Linked DNA regions of Homo sapiens: regions 1 and 3 are each linked to region 2. The links are contacts of gene promoters, found by promoter capture Hi-C in human tissues and cell types (Jung and others, 2019). All regions are on one chromosome and are shown on one strand. The core of a region is centred on a gene start or on the middle of the fragment in contact, and the rest is flanking DNA. Distances in the headings are between cores, read along the strand shown. Region 1 overlaps PSMD4 (proteasome 26S subunit ubiquitin receptor, non-ATPase 4). Region 2 holds the start of PSMB4 (proteasome 20S subunit beta 4). Region 3 holds the start of VPS72 (vacuolar protein sorting 72 homolog).

The links. The method cuts DNA at HindIII sites, captures the fragments that hold promoters and counts their contacts. A contact is called where the count stands out against the background at its distance.
Region 1: a fragment that was not itself captured here is called in contact with the fragment with the promoter of PSMB4 in region 2 in 2 of the 25 tissues and cell types used here (lymphoblastoid cells and mesenchymal stem cells).
Region 3: a contact is called between the fragment with the promoter of VPS72 here and the fragment with the promoter of PSMB4 in region 2, in 2 of the 25 tissues and cell types used here (adrenal gland and hippocampus).

The regions. Positions count from the first base shown.
Region 1 is chr1:151,265,787-151,270,270 of GRCh38, forward strand. It overlaps PSMD4 (proteasome 26S subunit ubiquitin receptor, non-ATPase 4), which reads left to right. Exons shown (of 10, transcript NM_002810.4): 7 at 218-326; 8 at 522-653; 9 at 734-801; 10 at 1,387-1,693. The coding sequence ends at 1,557. Among named protein-coding and RNA genes, the nearest start is that of PSMD4, 13 kb to the left of the region's middle. RefSeq lists a silencer at 1-41 and an enhancer at 1-41. The HindIII fragment of the contact is 5,567 bases long and covers 1-4,285 here.
Region 2 is chr1:151,396,447-151,400,936 of GRCh38, forward strand. PSMB4 (proteasome 20S subunit beta 4) reads left to right here and starts at 3,127. Exons shown (of 7, transcript NM_002796.3): 1 at 3,127-3,281; 2 at 3,535-3,741; 3 at 3,996-4,142; 4 at 4,318-4,399. The coding sequence starts at 3,142. RefSeq lists enhancers at 2,484-3,206, 2,807-2,856, 3,207-3,928 and a silencer at 3,697-3,854. The HindIII fragment of the contact is 13,788 bases long and covers 1-4,490 here.
Region 3 is chr1:151,187,627-151,191,986 of GRCh38, forward strand. It overlaps VPS72 (vacuolar protein sorting 72 homolog), which reads right to left and starts at 2,571. Exons shown (of 6, transcript NM_005997.3): 1 at 2,379-2,571. The coding sequence starts at 2,495. RefSeq lists enhancers at 2,546-2,615, 2,656-2,715. The HindIII fragment of the contact is 20,238 bases long and covers 1-4,360 here.

The DNA.
Region 1 (4,484 bases), core at 252-2,751, 130 kb before region 2:
TGTCAGATGCTTTCTTGTTCACTTCTGATGAAAACCGAGGCTTCTCCCAAGTCCTTACTTTTTAATCCCGTACCACTGCTTATCCCTCCAGCTTCTTCTCTGTGTGATAAACCAGAAGCTGCCCCTTTATGTTCCTTTCCCACACCCCAACTGACTTTCCCAGCTCCCTGTAGGAGTGAGGGCAGGGGAGCCCTGATTATGCCCTGCCCTTCACCAGGCCCTTCGTGTATCTATGGAAGAGCAGCGGCAGCGGCAGGAGGAGGAGGCCCGGCGGGCAGCTGCAGCTTCTGCTGCTGAGGCCGGGATTGCTACGACTGGGACTGAAGGTGAAAGAGGTGGAATCCGAAGTCCTGGGACTGCGGGATGCTAAACATTGAAAGCTGGGTGTAGGCACTGCAGGGAGAGTGTGGAGGTCTGACAGGGTAGGAATATGTGGGAGGGCTGGGCTAGGAATGGCCTTGGAGGCTGGCCTGTGTGGATATGGCACCAATTCTACCCTGCTCCTCTTTTCCTTTTCCCAGACTCAGACGATGCCCTGCTGAAGATGACCATCAGCCAGCAAGAGTTTGGCCGCACTGGGCTTCCTGACCTAAGCAGTATGACTGAGGAAGAGCAGATTGCTTATGCCATGCAGATGTCCCTGCAGGGAGCAGGTGAGCCAGAGCCTGGGTGGTGCCTAGGCAGAGGTTGGGGTGAGGAAGTGTAACTGAACAGACTGACCTCTCTTCCTCAGAGTTTGGCCAGGCGGAATCAGCAGACATTGATGCCAGCTCAGCTATGGACACATCTGAGCCAGCCAAGGTGAGACCCAACCCTGCCCCCATCAGGTTTAAAGTCCTTGAATTTAGATCCTCATCCCTCTGGGGCTGGGAGTATTTCTACCATAGCTAAGTCCTTTGAGGAGCAGAGGGAAACACATGGATTTGCATTTCTTACATGTAAACCTTGCTAAGGTAGCAATGCTAATGGTCAGAGTTGGAGAAATGTCCTCTTGTTCTGTAATTTTCCTTTCTTGCTGGTGGGAGCAGCCTGGGCAGTTCTCTAGGATGTCTTCCCAGGAGGGAAAAAAGCGGGTCTGGGAAAAAGAAAAAGGAGAACTGGGTGTCTTGAGAGCAGGAAACCTCAATGTGATGGCATCTGTTTTTCTCCTCAGAGCTCAATTAACAGAGTTCTCAGCAGGCCCCTCTATTTGGTTAGTAATAACTGCATTCATGCTGTATAAAGGATTTTGCTGACTTGTCCTTTCCTTACGTCGACCAGAGGTGCCCAGATCCCCACACAGTCAGAAGGCAGGGGGCCTCTGGCAGCGGCATGCTCCTGTCCTTAACACCTGCTTACTTCCTGCCGCTCCATACCCTCCCTTGAGCTCACACTGCCTGTTTGCAGGAGGAGGATGATTACGACGTGATGCAGGACCCCGAGTTCCTTCAGAGTGTCCTAGAGAACCTCCCAGGTGTGGATCCCAACAATGAAGCCATTCGAAATGCTATGGGCTCCCTGGCCTCCCAGGCCACCAAGGACGGCAAGAAGGACAAGAAGGAGGAAGACAAGAAGTGAGACTGGAGGGAAAGGGTAGCTGAGTCTGCTTAGGGGACTGCATGGGAAGCACGGAATATAGGGTTAGATGTGTGTTATCTGTAACCATTACAGCCTAAATAAAGCTTGGCAACTTTTTTTCCTTTTTTGCTTCAAATATTGATGGTTTTGAGTGTGAGAGAGGGGAGGAGTCCCTGGCCTGAAGGAGAACCTTCCTTGTTGAGTTCTCTATGTCTCTGTTTCCACCTGTCTGGGCCTCCTAACGTGCTGGGATTACAGGCCCAGGAGCCAGGTTTCCATTTCTAATGAACGAAGACCTTATTTAAACCACCTTCTTGCCAATAACTTTTACTCTGCACTCACACAGCTGAACCCCAAGCATGGAATGATACTCAACCTTTTCAGTTTTTTCATGTGGACTTCTGAGGTTCAGCAAGTTTAGGTTATTTGGCCAAGGATATTTAGCTAATGAAGAGGCAGAACCAGGATCAAAATCCAAACTTGTCTCAGACCTGTCTCGCCAGGAGTTGAATCACCACCAAACAGTAGTTTCCCATTGGTCAGCTGCCTTCAGTGACTCTGCTCAGCCCTGCAAGTCAGTTCCTTGTAGCAACTACTATACCTTCCTCTACTCCCCGATCACTCTCAACAGAAGCCTGACATCTTTACAGAGAGTCAAGGCCGTGAGGCAGGAAGTTCTGGCTCCCTCCCTCCTGCCAGCACCTCCCTGCATCAGTTATGCTGTCTCCTGAGTCTCTGCTGTCCTAAACACCCTGCTGGCGTTTTCCTCTCAGTGTACATGCATAAAATCCACTCTACAAGTAACCTTACCTTGAGACTTTATATTATACGGTTTAAATATTATTTTACAAGGAACATCTATTCCCTTTATAATTTTTTTTAAAGTTTTTTTTTTTTTCAGCCAGGTGCGGTGGCTCACACCTGTAATCCCAGCACTTTGGGAGGCCGAGGTGGGCAGATCACAAGGTCAGGAGTTTGAGACCAGCCTGACCAATATGGTGAAACCCCGTCTCTACTAAAAATAGAAAAAAAATTAGCCGGGTGTGGTGGCACACGCCTGTAATTCCAGCTACTCAGGAGGCTGAGGCAGGAGAATTGCTTGAACCCAGGAGGCGGAGGTTGCAGTGAGCTGAGATCATGCCACTGCATTCCAGCCTGGGCGACAGAGGGAGACTCTCAAAAAATAAAAAATTAAAAAATATATATATATATTTTTATTTATTTTAAACAAAGTCTGTGCTCTGTCACCCAGGCTGGGGTGCAGTGGTGTGATCATAGCTCACTGTAGCCTCAACCTCCTAGCCTAAAGGATCCTCCTGCCTCAGCCTCCTGCATAGCTGGGACTAAGGCACACACTACCACGCCCAGCTAATTTTTTTTTTTTTTTTTTGAGATGGAGTCTGTCGCACAGGCTGGAGTGCAGTGGCACTGTCTTGGCTCACTGCAACCTCTGCCCCCCAGGCTCAAGCAGTTCTCATGCCTCAGCCTCGCAAGTAGCTGGGACTATAGGTATGTACCACCATGCCTGGCTAATTTTTAATTTTTTTTATAGATATGCGGTCTATGTTTCCCAGGCTGGTCTTGAACTCCTGGGCTCAAGTGATCCTCCCACCTCGGCCTCCCAAAGTGCTGGGATTATAGGTGTGAGCCACCGTGCCTGGCCTATATAGTTTTAAAAGTTAGATTTGTAATAAAAATTGGTAGGGTCCTGCCCTACCCCTCTGCACTCTTGAGGTCTACTCCCAGAAGTAATCAATTTAACTTCTTTAGCTAGCTCTTCCTGTGCTTACTTCCTTATTCCCAAAGAATGAACTTATATGGCTATTTCTTAATTTTTCCATTTTAGCCATTATCTATACTGTTTACTATAGAATATTATAATTTAGTTTTTTTTTTGTTTTCGAGGCAGAGTTTCGCTCTTGTTGCCCAGGCTAGAGTGCAATGGCACGATCTCTGCTCACTGCAACCTCCGCCTCCTGGGTTCAAGCGATTCTCCTGCCTTAGCCTCCCAAGTAGCTGGGATTACAGGCATGTGCCACCACACCCGTCTAATTTTTTTATTTTTGGTAGAGACGGTTTCATCATCTTGGCCAGGCTGGTCTTGAACTCCTGACCTCGTGATCTACCTGCCTCGGCCTCCTGAAGTGCTGGGATTACAACGCCTGACTAATTTTTATATTTTTTTTGTAGAGACGGGGTTTCGCCAGGTTACCTAGACTGGTCGTGAGCTCAAGCAATCTGCCCACCTCAGCCTCCCAAAGTGCTGGAATTATAGGCCTGAACCACCACACCTAGCATTTTTTTTTTTTTTTTTTTTTTTGAGACGGAGTCTTGCTCTGTCACCCAGGCTGGAGTGCAGTGGCATGATCTTGGCTCACTGCAAGCTCCGCCTCCCGGGTTCACGCCATTCTCCTGCCTCAGCCTCCCGAGTAGCTGGGACTACAGGCGCCCGCCACCACGCCCGGCTAATTTTTTGGATTTTTAGTAGAGATGGGGTTTCACCGTGTTAGCCAGGATGGTCTGGATCTGACCTTGTGATCCGCCCGCCTCGGCCTCCCAAAGTGCTGGGATTACAGGCTTGAGCCACCACCTCCCAAAGTGCTGGGATTACAGGCTTGAGCCACCACGCCCGGCCCATTGTTTTTGTTTTTATTCTTTTACCATGAGAAATAGAAACCTCCTCTCATTGGTCAAATACAGTAGGTAACCTGTTAACCTCACGTGATGGCCTCCTGAGCTTGCTCCAATGTGGATTGGTTGTCCTCGACCTGCTGCAAAGTTTTAGTTCTGGCCCTTCCCTGCACCTTCACCCTGGGACTCACTTATTTCCTGGATGCCATATTTTGGTTTTCCTTTGTTTCATCCTCTGTTTTAGTAGAATTTGTCATCCAGTAGCTTTCTGAGAAAGGAGCACAGCAAGTTTATTT
Region 2 (4,490 bases), core at 1,877-4,376:
GGTTCTCACGTTCTTTTGAATATTGCATCATCAGTAGTTAGCAGTTTGCTTTCTCTGACATCCTACTCTCAGGAGGGATGACTCTGGATCCTCTCATTTAAAAAATTATTTTATATATAGATAAAATATATAGCTATATTACCCCACCGGTAACATAGCTTCTAAAAGCTCAGGGTCACATCCCTGAGGTGACCCTCTCCTGCCTTAAAGTGTCTGCCTGAGAAAACTCAAGGCTGCCAAAATAATTTACTTTGTTCCAGCCAATACCTGAGAATAGGCCAGGGGCAGTGGCTCACGCCTGTAATCCCAGCACTTTGGGTGGGCAGCTTTCTTTCTCTCTCTTTCGTTCTTCCTTTCCTTCCTTTCCTTTCCCTCCCTCCCTCTCTCTCTTCTCTTCCTTCCTTCCTTTCCTTTTCCTTCCTTTCCTTTCCCTTCCTTTCTTTCTTCCTTTCTTTTTCTTTCTGTCTGTCTCTCTTTCCTTTCTTTCTTTCCTTCCTTCCTTTCCTTTCCTTCTTTCCTTTCTTTTCTTTCCTTTTTTTGAGACAGCGTTTCGTTAGTTCTGTCACTCAGGCTGGAGTGCAGTGGTGCAATCTTGGCTCACTGCAACCTCTGTCTCCTGGGTTCAAACAAATCTCCTGCCTCAACCTCCCAAGTACCTGGGATTACAGGCGTGTGCCACCACACCCGGCTAATTTTTGTATTTTTTGTAGAGATGGGGTTTCATCACGTTGGCCATGCTGGTCTTGAATTCCTGACCTCAGGTGATCCGCCCATCTAAGTCTCCCAAAGTCCTGGGATTACAGGCATGAGCCACCGCGCCCGGCCTGAGGTGGGCAGATTTCTTGAGCTCAGGAGTTTGAAACTAGCCTGGGCAACATGGTGAGATCTCTCCTGGTCTCTACAAAAAAATACAAAAATTAGGCCGGTCGTGGTGTCTCACGCCTGTAATTCCATCACTTTGGGAGGCTGGGGTGAGAGGATTACCTGAGGTCAGGAGTTTGAGACCAACCTGGCCAGTGTGATGAAACCCCATCTCTACTAAAAATACAACAACAACAACAAAAAAAAAATTAGCTGGGCATGGTTGTGCACCCCTGTAATCCCAGCTACTGAGGAGGCTGAGGCTGGAGAATCGCTTGAACCAGGGAGGCGGAGGCTGCTTTGAGTTGAGATCGTGCCACTGCACTCCAGCCTGTGCAACAGAGCAAGACTCCCTCTCAAAATAAGAAAAAAAGAAAAAAAACAAAAACAAAAATTAGCCGGGTGTGGCATCTGTAGTCCCCAGCTACTCGAGAGGTTGCAGCTGGAGGATCGCTGGAGCCGGGGAGGCAAGGGTCGCAGTGAGCCGAGATCATGCCACTGCACTCCAGCCTGGGTGACAGAGCCAGACCTTGTCTCAAAAAACAAACAAACAAAAGACACCTAAGGACAGTGTTGAGGATGGTATCCTCACCAGTCTCTGTGGGAGGATGGAATCCTAACTTCCATAAATGCCAGCTAGCAGACATCATTGACCTAAGCACATTTACATTGACTAATTCTGTAAATGTTCACTTCCCTGACTCTACTGACCCTCTGTCTCACTGTCCCCTAACCTCATTTTCCCTATAAAATACCCATTACTTGCATACAAATTGCAGTTGAGTTCAGTTCATGCTGAACTGTTTTTCCTTATTGTAGTAGTTATTACTGATTGAAATCTGTCCTTTCCACTTTAGTGTCCGGCTTTGTTTATCTTTGACAAAATTCACCAGTTTGATTCAAGACAGTTTCCAGCCCCTGCTATGGAGTTACACTGAGAAGGAAACCCCTGGAATTTAGTTTCACCCCTACACTTCCAATGGAATTTTTCTGTTTCTTTAGAGGTGGGCAAGGGCCCTTGACAATAAGGAAACTTTCAGACTTGTCTAAGGTCCCACAGAGAGTGCTTGATCCACCTGAGCTATCACACCCCACAGGGTATACACAAGTGTATTCTTTTTTTTTTTTTTTTTTTTTTTTTTTTTGTGACAGGGTCTCGCTCTGTTGCCCAGGCTGGAGTGCAGTGGCGCCACCTTGGCTCACTGCAACCTCCCTCGGGTTCAGGCGATTCTCCCACCTCACCCTCCCAAGTAGCTGGAATTACAGGCCTGGCTAATTTTTTGTTTTGTTTTGTTTTGTAGAGGTGAGGTCTCACCATGTTGCCAAGGCTGGTCTTGAATTCCTGGGTTCAAGTGATCCTCCCGTCTTGGCCTCCCAAAGTTCTGGGATTACAGGCATGAGCCACCGCACCCGGCCCTGATTCCTTTTTTTATTCTAGCTTCAAGATTCAGTTCTACCGTTATCGGCTGTGTGACTGGGTAAATCACTACACCGCAAGCCTCGGTTTCCTATTTACCAAATGGGTCGAATAATGCCTGCCACATGGGGCTGCTCTGAGGAGTACAGATGTAAGAGATCCTGTGTTCACTGATATTTTCATGTGGGCTTTTTGATAATGATACAAAAGGAACATGAGAACTGTGACTTCTAGGCCGGGCGAGGCGGCTTACTCCTGTAATCCCAGCACTTTGGGAGTCCGAGGCAGGCGGATCACCTGAGATCCGGAGTTCGAGACCAGCCTGGCCAACATGGTGAAACCCCATCTCTAGCAAAAATACAAAAAATTAGCCAGGCGTGGTGGCAGGCGCCTGTAATCCCAGCTACTCGGGAGGCTAAGGCACGAGAATCGCTTGAATCTGGGAGGCGGAGGTTGCAGTGAGCCGAGATCGCGCCACTGCATTCCAGCCTGGGGGCCAGAGCGAGACTCCGTCTCAAAAAAATAAAAAATAAAATAAAAAATTGTGACGTCTCACTCAGGATCAGCGTCTTTAAGTGGCCACCTCCCCACCCCACCTTCATGCCTCCCTCCTCCTTGAATCGTGTGTTAGAACGCTGTGATCTGGTCCAAACTCCACGGAGATGCGATGCGATGCGAAGCGATGTTGGGCAATTTCAACTCCCTGTCTCGGTCGCCACCTAGGATTACTGCATGTTCAGCTACGACCTCATCAACATGGCTGCTGGAAGTCGTCTACAGGAAAAAGAAAGAAATGACACTGAAGGATCACTTCCGCTTCCGTTGGCGCAAGCGCTTTCATTTTTTCTGCTACCGTGACTAAGATGGAAGCGTTTTTGGGGTCGCGGTCCGGACTTTGGGCGGGGGGTCCGGCCCCAGGACAGTTTTACCGCATTCCGTCCACTCCCGATTCCTTCATGGATCCGGCGTCTGCACTTTACAGAGGTCCAATCACGCGGACCCAGTAAGTTCTCGGCGCTTTCGTTTGCGTAGCGGGAGGGACCGTGGGGCCTGGTGCTGCCGGCTGGTTTTGAGAGCCCGGGAAGGTGAGGCGGGGACCCCGGGGGCGCGCGAACGGCAGGGGAGCTCAGGGCGCGGAGTCCTGGAGAATGCAGAATAATTGGAAGGAATTATAGAAAATCAGAAGCGCAGCTCAGTGCGCGGAAAGAGGGCGCAGTCCATCCCCCCTCTCAGCTCCCACCGTTCTCACTCTTTAGGAACCCCATGGTGACCGGGACCTCAGTCCTCGGCGTTAAGTTCGAGGGCGGAGTGGTGATTGCCGCAGACATGCTGGGATCCTACGGCTCCTTGGCTCGTTTCCGCAACATCTCTCGCATTATGCGAGTCAACAACAGTACCATGCTGGGTGCCTCTGGCGACTACGCTGATTTCCAGTATTTGAAGCAAGTTCTCGGCCAGATGGTGTAAGTCATCCAGAGAACAGGAGAGTGGTTCCCAAGTAGAGAGGGGAGTCCCCTGTTTTTTATTCCCTTCGATGGGATGGGGGGACTTGTTGCAGCGGGGGACTGGAAGAGTTGTTGGAGGTGGGCGATCTGTGTTTGCAATAAAGTTTTTGGCATTAGGTGTAAAATGGGGGAAGGTGTGGTAACTTCTTTTGGGGATGGGTGGAGACCCCGACTTAATTCTCTCCCTTTTCTCACAACCAATTCCTTTTAAGGATTGATGAGGAGCTTCTGGGAGATGGACACAGCTATAGTCCTAGAGCTATTCATTCATGGCTGACCAGGGCCATGTACAGCCGGCGCTCGAAGATGAACCCTTTGTGGAACACCATGGTCATCGGAGGCTATGCTGATGGAGAGAGGTTCATATGAATACAAATAACTTATTTCCTTTACCACCCAACCTAGTACCTGTGTAGTATCTCTTCTGTCTCTTCTCCCCAAGTGAATCCCACTTTAACTCAGACCCCATGGTCCCCTTCTTCAGCTAAGATGAATCTAAGGTGAAATGAGTTTTGACCCATTGTGTCCTGTTAGCTTCCTCGGTTATGTGGACATGCTTGGTGTAGCCTATGAAGCCCCTTCGCTGGCCACTGGTTATGGTGCATACTTGGCTCAGGTAAGTAGTAAGTCTAGAGGTGGGGGAAAGGGAAGACAAAAGGAAATGGATTAGTGGTTGTCTGCTTTTCTCCTGAAATTCTGATATGAGG
Region 3 (4,360 bases), core at 1,321-3,820, 210 kb before region 2:
TCTATGAAAACCATTACTTTTTATAATATAAGGATATAATGATAAATGCTCCCTAGGATTTAAGGCTGAAAAAGTTTGTGTCTCTTGAAGAACTTGTATGCTTCTTTCTTACTAAAAAAAGAAATACAAGGTTTGGCTACCAGGAAGCTCACAACTAAATTTAATATCAATTGCTATTACCATTTTAGCAGAGGTTCCTGGTACAATTACTTCTGATCTGTCTCTATTTTTACTGTTCCTACTTTTTGTTTATATTGTAAGCCTCCTTAAATCCTTTTTGGAAGCATGAAGGGTACATATTAAATAACAAGTCGTAAAATGACAGAAATAGGAAAATGGCCTTAGAGGAGGGATGAGAAAGTTCTATTTTAAACTAGTTGGTTAGGGCTGTGTCAGTAATGACTCTGTCAGTGATGTGGGTTTTTTTTTTTTTTGAGACAGAGTCTCACTCTGTCGCCCAGGCTGGAGGGCAGTGGCGCAATCCACTGCAACCTCTGCCTCCTGGGTTCAAGTGATTCTCCTGCCTCAGCCTCCTAAGTAGCTGGAATTACAGGCACACGCCACCACAACCAGCTAATTTTTTGCATTTTTAGTAGTGACAGGGTTTCACCATGTTGGTCAGGCTGGTCTCGAACTCCTGACCTCGTGATCCACCCGCCTCAGCCTCCCAAAGTGCTGGAATTACAGGCGTGAGCCACCACACCCAGCCCCTAAGTCCTGTGGGTTCTATTCCTTAATTTCTCTTGAATCTTTCTGTTTCTCTACTGCCATGCCCCCTTCAAGCCATTCTCATTACAGAGTAAGTAACCTTCCTAAAGTACAAATTTCATCGTGGAATTCTGATGACTCTTCTCAGTCCTCTGGATGAAGAGCAAAATTCCTTAACATAGCTCACAAGGCCCTAAAGGATCTGGCCCATGCCTACTCCCTGCAGGCTTATCAATCTTTAGTCTCCTTCATGCTCTGGAGAATGAAAGTAGACTTGCAGGTCCTAGACCAGGATCTCAATGTCTTTACATACTCAGCCCATCCTGCTCTGTGGACTAACCTTTCTCCTTCTCCTGCTTTTCATCAAGCTAAGGTCTACTTTTCAAACTGTCCTCAGCTTAAACATCATCCCTCCAGGGATGCCTATCCTGATCAACAACTTTGGTTCAGATGTATTACCTTAACACTCTTACACCTTGTTTTAGTCCTTATCACACATTTTTTGTTTGTTTTTGAGACGGAGTCCTGCTCTGTCGCCCAGGCTGGAGTGCAGTGGTACGATCTCGGCTCACTGCAACCTCCTCCTCCCAGGTTCAAGCGATTCTCTGCCTCAGCCTCCTGAGTAGCTGGGACTATAGGCGCACACCACCACGCTTGGCTAATTTTTGTATTTTAATAGAGACAGGGGGTTTTACCATGTTGGCCAGGATGGTCTCGATTTCCTGACCTTGTGATCCACCCGCCTCGGCCTTCCAAAGTGCTGGGATTACAGGCGTGAGCCACTGTGCCCGGCCAAAGCCACTGTGCTCGGCCTATCACACAGTATTTTAACTGTTAACCCAGGCAGTTACCCCACTGGGGCATGGAGTATGTAAGGACAGAGCACTGTTTTTAATATTCTGTTTCCCTAGAGCCTAAAACAACCTATTACCGATGGCATGCTCTGGGTACTCAACACATTTAATAAACGGGTAGATTCAACTAATAAAAATTTAGCAAGTGGCAGCCCAGTCCGGACACCTCACACATAATGTTGAACAAAACAGACCATCTCTAACTTTATACAGTTTACAATGCAATAGAAAAGCATAAGCAAGTAAGCAAACCAAATCTAATTGCAAATTGAAATATGTTCTGTGGAAGAAATAAATGGGGACACTTGTTAGGATAGTCAAGGAAGGGTTATCTTCCTGAGAAAACATTTACACTGAGACCTGAAAGCTGAAAAAGAAGTGGGCTAAGCTCCTCTACTTTTGGAGCGGTTCCTTTCCATGTCTCAGGTGAATAATCCAGCAGTGGGCCAACGAGTATACATCGAGCAACTGTCTACTACTATGTGTGTGCCTCGTGTATGCTGGACGTCAGAAGTACAGTGAAAGATGCAACCACGCAAGTATACGGTAGGTTTCTGCCGTTCTCTGTTCTCTGGAGTGCCTCCGGAGAGCTTCTCCGTCTCAGGCCCCTTTGACCCCATCCAGAGCTCTCCCTTCTAGGACTCCACACTATCCGTTCCCCCGCCTCGCCCCCCGGCTCCGATTCACCCACCCAACTCGAGTATCAGCTCCCAGAGCTCCTCTCTATTCCCCGCCCTCTTCTTCTTTGTCCGGGGTTTCTCCCTTCAGGGCTCCTCTTTGCCTCCTCCCCTCCCTTTTCCCAGGCCCGGATCTTGCCTCTGTGAAACCCCCATAAGTCGTCTGGTAGAACTCATCTTCCTCCTCTGCCTCCAAAAGCCCAGAAAGCCGGTTCCCAGCGGTCTTCCGGGGTGCCCGGCCCCCAGCCAAACTCATACCGCCTACCGAGACTGCGCCGCCACCTGCAGCCCCTCACCAGCTCGGTTTTGGGAGCTCGACGCTCGACATCACTACCTGCGGGTGGCCACCAGCGGCGGAAGTCGGGCGTTTACAGGCAGAAGTAACAGAGTGTCGAGAGACTCCCAGTCCCACCCTCTAAACCCTCTTTACTCTTCAGCCTCTCCTACTCCTGCGCGGATGCTCTAGGCCGCTTGCTCTAGTACCCAGCGATCTCCCTTGCTCAATGAGTCCACTTGGTGGTACGAAGACCCCCATAACCCTAAGTCAACACATTTTATTTTATTTATTTTTATTTTATATATATATATGGTTTTTTTTTTCCGTAGGGACGGAGTCTCGCCTCGCTCTGTCGCCAGACTGGAGTGCAGTGGCACGATCTCGGCTCACTGCAACCTCCGTCCCCCGGGCTGAAGCGATTCTCCTGCCTCAGTCCCCCGAGTAGCTGGGATTACAGGCGCCCGCCACCATGCCCAACTAATTTTTGTATTTTTAGTAGAGACAGCTTTCACCGTGTTGGCCAGGCTGGTCTCGAACTCCTGACCTCAGGTGATCCGCCCGCTTCGGCCTCCCAAAGTGCTGGGATTACAGGCATAAGCCTGCGCCCCCAGCTCACATTTTCTTTTAGAAGAGGTCATTCTCTCCGCTCCAGTCCATTTTCTACACTGCTGCTAGTAGGAAACTTTCTAAAAACCCACGTTTTGCCACTCCTGTCCTCAAACATTTTTAATGGCTCCACATCATCTACAAGATAAAGTCAAAAATCCTTGAGGAAGGAAGCATAGTATTGTGGTTAAAAACACAGCCATAGACATTTATCCAAAGGAAAGGACATAATTCAACCTGAGGAAGCCAATTTAGGAGGAAAAAAAAAAAGGAAATCAGTATATCCAAGAGACGTCTGCACTCCATATTTATGCACCCCCATATTTATTGCAGCACTACTTAGAGTAGCCAAAATAGGAAATCAATCTCTGTGTCCAACAACAGATGAATAAAGGAAATAGGGTGTATATACACAATGGAATACTTTTCAGCCATTAAAAAGAAGAAAATCCTGTCATTTGCAGCAACATGGATGGAACTGGAGGACATGTTAACTGACTTAAGCCACGAACAGAAAGTTAAAACACTGCATGTTCTCACTCATATGTGACGCTTTTAAAAAGTTGATTTCATAGAAGTGAAAGAACAGAGGATACTGGAGGCTGGGAAGAGCAGGGGGAAGGAAGGGACAGGGAAAGATTTGTTAAAAGACACAAAATTGTGGCTCACACCTGTAATCCCAGCACTTTGGGAGGCCGAAGGGGGTGGATCATGAGGTCAGGAGTTCACGACCAGCCTGGCCAAGATGGCGAAACCCCATCTCTACTAAAAATACAAAAATTAGCTGGTCGTGGTGGTGGGCGCCTGTTATCCCAGATACTCGAGAGGCTGAGGCAGAGAATTGCTTGAACTCGGGAGGCGGAGGTTGCAGTGAGCCGAGATCGCGCCATTTGCTCTCCAGCCTGGGAAACAGAGCAAGACTCCGTCTCAGAAAAAAAAAAAAGACAAAATTGGGCCTGGCACAGTGGCTCACACCTGTAATCCCAGCACTTTGGGAGGCTGAAGCGGGCAGATCCCGAGGTCAAGAGATTGTGACCATCCTGGCCAACATGGTGAAACCCCGTATCTACTACAAATACAAAAATTAGCTGGGTGTGGTGGCGCGCACCTGTAGTCCCAGCTACTAGGGAGGCTGAGGCAGGAGAATCGCTTGAACCCGGGAGGCAGAGGTTGCAGTGAGCTGAGATTGTGCCACTGCACTCCAGCCTGGCAACAGAGCAAGACTCCATCTCAAAAGA